Regions from separate parts of the Homo sapiens genome. Here region 1 is linked to region 2. Evidence: promoter capture Hi-C in 16 types of primary human blood cells and fetal thymus (Javierre and others, 2016). All regions are on one chromosome and are shown on one strand. Each heading gives the region's core, a stretch centred on a gene start or on the middle of the fragment in contact. The rest is flanking DNA. Distances are from core to core; before and after follow the strand shown. Region 1 overlaps NR3C1 (nuclear receptor subfamily 3 group C member 1). Region 2 holds the start of HMHB1 (histocompatibility minor HB-1).

Region 1 (3,336 bases), core at 709-3,208, 470 kb after region 2:
CCTGACCAACATGGGGAATCCCCATCTCTACTAAAAATACAAAAATTAGCCAGGTGTGGTGGTACACACCTGTAATCCCAGCTATTTGGGAGGCTGAGGCAGGAGAATTGCTTGAACCTGGGAGGTGGAGGTTGCAGTAAGCCGAGATTGTGCCCCTGCACTCCGGCCTGGTGACAGAGCTAGACTCTGTCTCAAAAAACAATAATAATAATTTGTATTCATTCATTTTCCAATGTGTTCATTCCAGTTCAGGGTCCAGGGGGCCTGCAGCTTATACTCATAGCTCAGAGCAACTGACCCTATAGACAGGACGCCACCCCATTGTAGGGTGCACTCAAATGCACACTCACACTCAAACTGGGACCCTTCAGACATGCCAGTTACCGTATCACACACAGCTTCGGGATGTGGGAGGAAAGCGAAGTATCTGGAGAAAAACTACACAGACATGGGAAGAACGAGCCAACTCTACACAGACAGTGGCCCTGGACAGAGCTGGGCAGGCATCAGTTTTTTTTCTTTTTTTTGTGGGGGGTGAGGGTGGGGCATGGAGTCTCACTCTGTCACCCAGGCTGGATTGCAGTGCAGTGGTGTGATCTCAGCTCACTACAACCTCCACCTCCCGGGTTCAAGAGTTTCTCCTGCCTCAGCCTCCCAAGTAGCTGGGATTACAGGCGCCCGCCACCACACCTGGCTAATTTTTGTATTTTTAGTAGAGACAAGGTTTCACCATGTTGGCCAAGCTGGTCTGGAACTCCTGACCTCAGGTGATCCACCCGCCTTGGCCTCCCAAAGTGATGGGATTACAGGCGTGAGCTACCGCGCCCAGTCAGCATCATTTTTTTTTTCTCATCAACGTTAAAACAATGTTGAACAAAACATTATTCAAAGACCTGCCGTATGGCTATTTTCTAGTTGTGTGACTTTCTTTGGGAAAGTTAGCAACCCTTTCTGAGCTTAAATGTCCTCATTCATAAAATGGGGCTAGTAATAATGCATAAGGTTTTTGTAAGAATTAGAATTAATAAAGTACTTAGACCATAATAACTAATTAGTATTAGTTGTTGTCTTTGCTATTATTTTGATGTGGTGGTTGTTTGGTTTCACCTGTGTACTATCAGGACATGCTGAAATAAAATTTAAGAATTGGCTTTATAATATTAGAAAAGCAAACTTTTGTACGATATGGGTATGAAAAATTGTTGGGAGTCTACTTTTTCTCTCTTACCTAATTTGTCTTAGTCTTTTTAAAGCTTAGATTTTCCAAATGAGCCATAGCAAAATATAATGTTTAAAAATGTTTAAATTCTAAGCACTATGTCATAGTTAAATAACTTAAAGGTGCTACATCTTATACAGTCCAAAAGGAACATAATTAGTAAAATTCTACAATTTAGAAAAAAAAATAGCTGACAGTGACTGATTTATAAAAGTAAAATATCTTTTGTTAATACTAATATTCTTTTTATAAATTAATTGATGACAAAAAATTGAGTGAATGAGATTTGCAGTTCATTTATCTATGATGCTGGTTTATTTAATCTCTATAATTTGCTGTATTTGAAAGAGCATAGTGATAGAGGTCATGATAAAATCTAGGCCCAGTGCCACAACTAAATCCCTGTAGGAACTCTCAAGGTTTTGATTTCATCTCTGAATGGGAATAACACCTTCCAAGAATATTATGAAGATTAAAAAGTTACGTATCATAAATACACACAGAGTAACAATACTGGGAATATTGCAACTTGTAAGAAAGAGGAAGCATATGGCATATTCTGATGGTTAGGGATATGGACTCTGTAGCTGGGATGCCTGAAAGAGAACTCTGACTCCACTAATGGCTAGTTATATGAAATTGTGCAGATAATTTAACTTCTCTGAGTTTGCATTTTTCTTTGTCTATATAATGGGGATAATAATAGTACCTACCTCACACATAGTGTTAATTTCTATTAGTGGTTCTCATTAAGATAGTATTGTTGTTCATCCCTGGTTGTTAGCCATCATGTATCTGAGTTAGAGAGTCATTGATTTTAGAAAGTCCCGAGGAGACTATCAGGTCAAGCAACCTGCCTCCTGCTAGACAATTAGCTTTATCCATGAGTTACCAAAGAGGGAGCCGAAACCCAGGGAAGCTGAAAGAGCTGTTGATTGTCACCCTGTGAGTTGGTGATAGAAAGATATCTGGAATCCCAGTAGTTGCCCATTTCCTAGTTCTGGGCTCTGCATTGCACTAGAATACTGTGCCATTCTAAATATGAAAAGGCAGTATGACCATTGTGCTTGTCACTTTCCATTCCCTAGATGCTATCTTATATTTGTCCTTATGAAATTTAACCTGTGACTTTCAGATCACTTAGAACCTTGGTTGGACAGTGTTTTCTAGTGTTATTTAGTATATTTTTTTGTCATCTTCTGTTGTCTTTGGGTTCCCCTAAAAGAGCTATACTCTGGGTGCCAGGAAACTTCACACATGACTGTCTTCTCTTCCTCGACTTCCCTCTCTACTTACCTTTCCAGCTCGTAGCAAATCAGAAGACTTCTCTGACACCTCTCTATGTCTAAAGGTCCTTTGATATTCTCACATGGCGGCATGAATCACAGTGTATTTTAACTGGCCTTTTCCTTGTATGTCTCCTACAATGAGCTGTTGAAGCTTCATGAAAACACAATCTGTTTTACTCAGGGCAGTTATAATTCCAATTACAAAGCACATTTCCTGGCTCCTGGCTAGGAACTCGATCATTTTTCGATGCTTCCTTGCTCAGGACTTTCTGATTCCTTCTTAAAACATTTTGGGGCATCTCCTTCTCCTGGTTTTTGGAAACATATTCTCATACTGCTATGAAGGTTTTTACTGACATTTCCAACTTCTCTTAAATTGATTCAGCAAATGTTTTTCCATAATAAATGTCATTGATATGTCATCAATATGGAGAGCAACAACAGAATGCATTGAGTAAACTCCTCCCCTGGAGGTCTGAGAATCTAGATTCCAGTTCTCACAGAGCCACCACCTTGGTGACCTTGGACAGTAGACCTTCTAAGCCTCAGTTTCCTTATCCCTTAAGTGGGGATATTAATAGAACCCATTCTCAGAGATGTTGCCAAGATTAAAATAACCAAGATAATTCCTGTAGATGATTTGGCATAGTGCCTGCCACGTACTAAGCAAGAGTTAGCCTCCGTCATTATAGTATGATCATAAAAAATGAACAGACTAAACGAAGTAACCAGAAGGAAAGAAATTTTAATTCTTAAAATGTAATAGTTTCTTGGTTTTTTTTTTTCTGTGAAACACCTGCATGGCACCTTTTTGTTATTCATACTGTT
Region 2 (3,351 bases), core at 522-3,021:
ATATGAAAATATCATGTGCCATATTTGCCTCTGCACTGAGTTATATCTGTACTTCTGCTTCAATACTGTAATTGGCCATCTCATTTCTATTGCCTATGGAGCAAAAGTCTGAAATAAAAAAGGTATGTTCATATTTATTACTTATATTTTTTTCCTTGCAAAATGACAATCTGGAGATAAAAAAAGTTAATTTTATAATTCACATCCTTACAAAAGAATTTTATTTGTTATTCTTCCAAAGGAAATCCACATGCCATTTACTTTATCTCTCACCAATAAAAAAAAATATGGACTGCTCATGAGACTGACAATGTCTTTCTTCATTTGAGTTTCTGAGTTAAGGAAACAAGGATGGAAACAGTTGACTTATGCTGGCCCCAACAAATGCCCTTTCCATTTTTTACTTTTCAGTTCAGCTAACATTTATTGACAGCTTTTACTGTGCCAAGCACTGTGCTAGATGCCAAGGATACAGAAATGATTAAAACACAGTTCCTTCCCTCAAGAATCCCATGCTCTGATGGAGGAGGCGAACAAGTGCTTTAGGCCAAAATGTAAAACTATGAGGGCACCAAAAAGGGAGTGGTTTATTTTGCCTGGAAAGAAATAAAACCTTCATAGAAGAGGTGACATTTGAAAGGGGCCTTGAAGGAAAAAAGGGAAGGTCGGTAGTTGTCTGTATGAAACAATAAAACAGCATAAAAATTCTAAAAGAAAGTTCTGTTTGTATTCTGTGGGCTACCTGTGCAACTGGATCTGAGCATTCCCTGGGGTGGCTGAGGGGGCTGTGTGGACCAGACAGAGCACAGGCTTCCCCGGCCTCATCAGTCCAGGCTGAGTGACCTCCAGTTGCAGGAAGGAGAAAACAGCAGATCCCTTCAGTGCACGGCACCAACACCTCCTATAACGTCAACCCAGGGCTCCGTGTGTCCTCTTCAAGAGGAGAAAACAAGACAAAAAAACAAACAAACAAACAAAAAACACGACAGCAGGGCCTTTCTGCCATTTCCTGGCTCTGAAATGAGGTTAGTGAGTTAAGGAATGAAGCCATCGTGTCTTTATCTGTAAACTGGGGAAAGCTATACCCCCCTCAAGTGCTTCTGTGAGGATGAAAGAGAGAAATGCATGCAAAGCCCCCGGCACATGATCCTAAGAAGTGGGAGCATGGCGATGATGGTGATGATGGTGGCCATGCTAAGGATAAAGGACGGGTCTGGTCTCTGGGCTGCCTTGGGAAGCCTGAGCATCCCACGCGGTGGGCAAGAACAATGTGATCTTGGCTACCCTGGCTCCGACCCAGAGGGACTTCCTGCCCATCTGCACTTCCCTTGCCGTTGTCCTTGTGGCTCAGGTGGTGCAGGCAGCTGCTCCAACTGCTGCCTCTGGTGCCCTGACAGCTGCAGGCAGCCAGGCAATGGGCTATGAAACCGAACCTCAACTGGAAACTATCCGCCCTAAATAATCCCAGCAACAAGGGCCGTCTCACTCCTCTCCCCTGCCTTCCGCCATCCCTGTTTTCACCTGTTGTGGTTTCCCTCTCATTCCACCAGCATTTTCTTTCATTTTCTCTGCCCCTTCGCTGCCTCTTTCCCTCTCTCTCTGTTCTCCCTCCTCCTCGCTCCCTCACCTCTTTTTTCTTCTCTGCATTCTGGCTGCTCCTCCAGTTCTGGTTTCTCCACTGTGGTGTGGCAGAGGATGTGAGGTCAGAAGGCTCAGGGCCTGCCCGGCTTCTGAGATGCGGGGCAAGCCGCCTCGGCCTCCTGGGATGTGGTTTCCTCATCTGCAGAATTGGACCAGAATGACTCTGGAGTGTTCCTTCCGTTCTAAACTCCCGTTCTGTTACATTGTGTTGTGTTAGCCTTTGTGCCTGCTTTTCCTGCTTCAGCTGTCTCATCTGTCCACCTGCCTCTTCCATCTGCATCCCACCACTCGGGTCCAAGCTGCCAGCATCCCTTGCAAGGACCCCTAGAGCAGCCTCCTGCTATTGGAGGTCTCTCTGCTCCTGTTCTTATCCACATCCAATGTGTTATCCACACAGAATCCACAGTGACCTTATCAAAATAGAGATGAGATTGCTCACTCAGCTTAAATCCTCCAAACTCCTTTACACCCCTTTTCTATCATAGGTCCCTGTTTATGTTCTTCAGAGTAATTATTATTGCCTGAAATTATCTTTATTTACTCATGAATTTCTTAATGTTGATGTATCATTTGCTGTCTGTCTTCCACACTAGAATGCAGGCTCCAGGAGTGATGGACTTGATTGTCTCGTTTACTCCATATCCTCACTGGAGGGGCCAGCGCCTTTATTCTCTCCATAAACACTGAATGAAGGAACCTCCCTTTGCCGCAGAATCCATCTCTCCCCTTCTTGAGAGTATTCTCTCCTAACCACACCATTTCTTACTTAGAAATACCTGTGCCTGCCAGAAATCCTGCCCATCCTTCTCTGTCATTTCTGATATAATTCCCCTCATTCACTTTTCTCAGTCAGCCGGGTCCTGTGTTCCCATGGGCTATGGTAAAGAACAATGGCAATGATGAAGCTAGTTCTTCTTTCACTTTAATGTCAATCTGTGCCGTTGGATGCCTTAAGATAAAATAACTTAACAACTCTGAGACTTGAATCTAGTTAATTGTCTTACAATGCTGAGAAAGAGACTTCTTTAAGAAAATATATTAAAACTTCCAAAATTCTGTGCTTGGTTCTTGGGGAGATGTTAGGAGTAGCCATTTTCTTTAAAACACCTCTTTAAAGTAGGTAATGTTAATATGTCCATTTTACAGGTAACAAAACTGGGATTTAGAGAGTGCACAACTGGACAAGGCCATAGAGCCAGAGGTGCATGGAGCCAGGATTTGAATGGAAGAAGTGCAACGCCAGACCCAGGCACCTAGCCACCACATGGGTGACCCTAGTCACCCTCTCACTCCCTAGATTAGATTACTCTGCATTATTTTCACCATAACACTTATAAATACCTGATGCGATCATATTTCTTGTGTCTATTTGCTTCCATTATAACATAAACTCCATCCAGGCAGTTACCATATCTGACCTGTTCACTGCACTTATTCCAATACTTACAATAGTGCCTCATACATAATGGACGTTCAATAAATATTTGCTAAATGAATTAGTTATTTGCATATTGAGGATGAGATATGAAAGAAGGCCTGATAATTCTGTATATAAAACTCCATCTTAGCCAGGCACTGTGGCTCACACCTGTAATTCCCAGCACTTTGGGAGGCCAAGGCAGCAGGATCGCTTGAGCCCAGGAGTTTGAAACCAGCCTGGTCAACATAGACCTCATCCCCACACAAAAAAAAATAATAAATAAAAAATAA

What was found. The method cuts DNA at HindIII sites, captures the fragments that hold promoters and counts their contacts. A CHiCAGO score of 5 or more calls a contact.
Region 1: a contact is called between a fragment that was not itself captured here and the fragment with the promoter of HMHB1 in region 2, in 1 of 17 cell types (monocytes). The highest score is 5.1, in monocytes.

The regions. Positions count from the first base shown.
Region 1 is chr5:143,342,086-143,345,421 of GRCh38, reverse strand. The region is part of intron 2 of NR3C1 (nuclear receptor subfamily 3 group C member 1); the gene reads left to right. Among named protein-coding and RNA genes, the nearest start is that of NR3C1, 60 kb to the left of the region's middle. The HindIII fragment of the contact is 1,406 bases long and covers 1,256-2,661 here.
Region 2 is chr5:143,810,581-143,813,931 of GRCh38, reverse strand. HMHB1 (histocompatibility minor HB-1) reads right to left here and starts at 1,771. Exons shown (of 2, transcript NM_021182.3): 1 at 1,628-1,771. The coding sequence starts at 1,664. The HindIII fragment of the contact is 5,854 bases long and covers 1-3,351 here.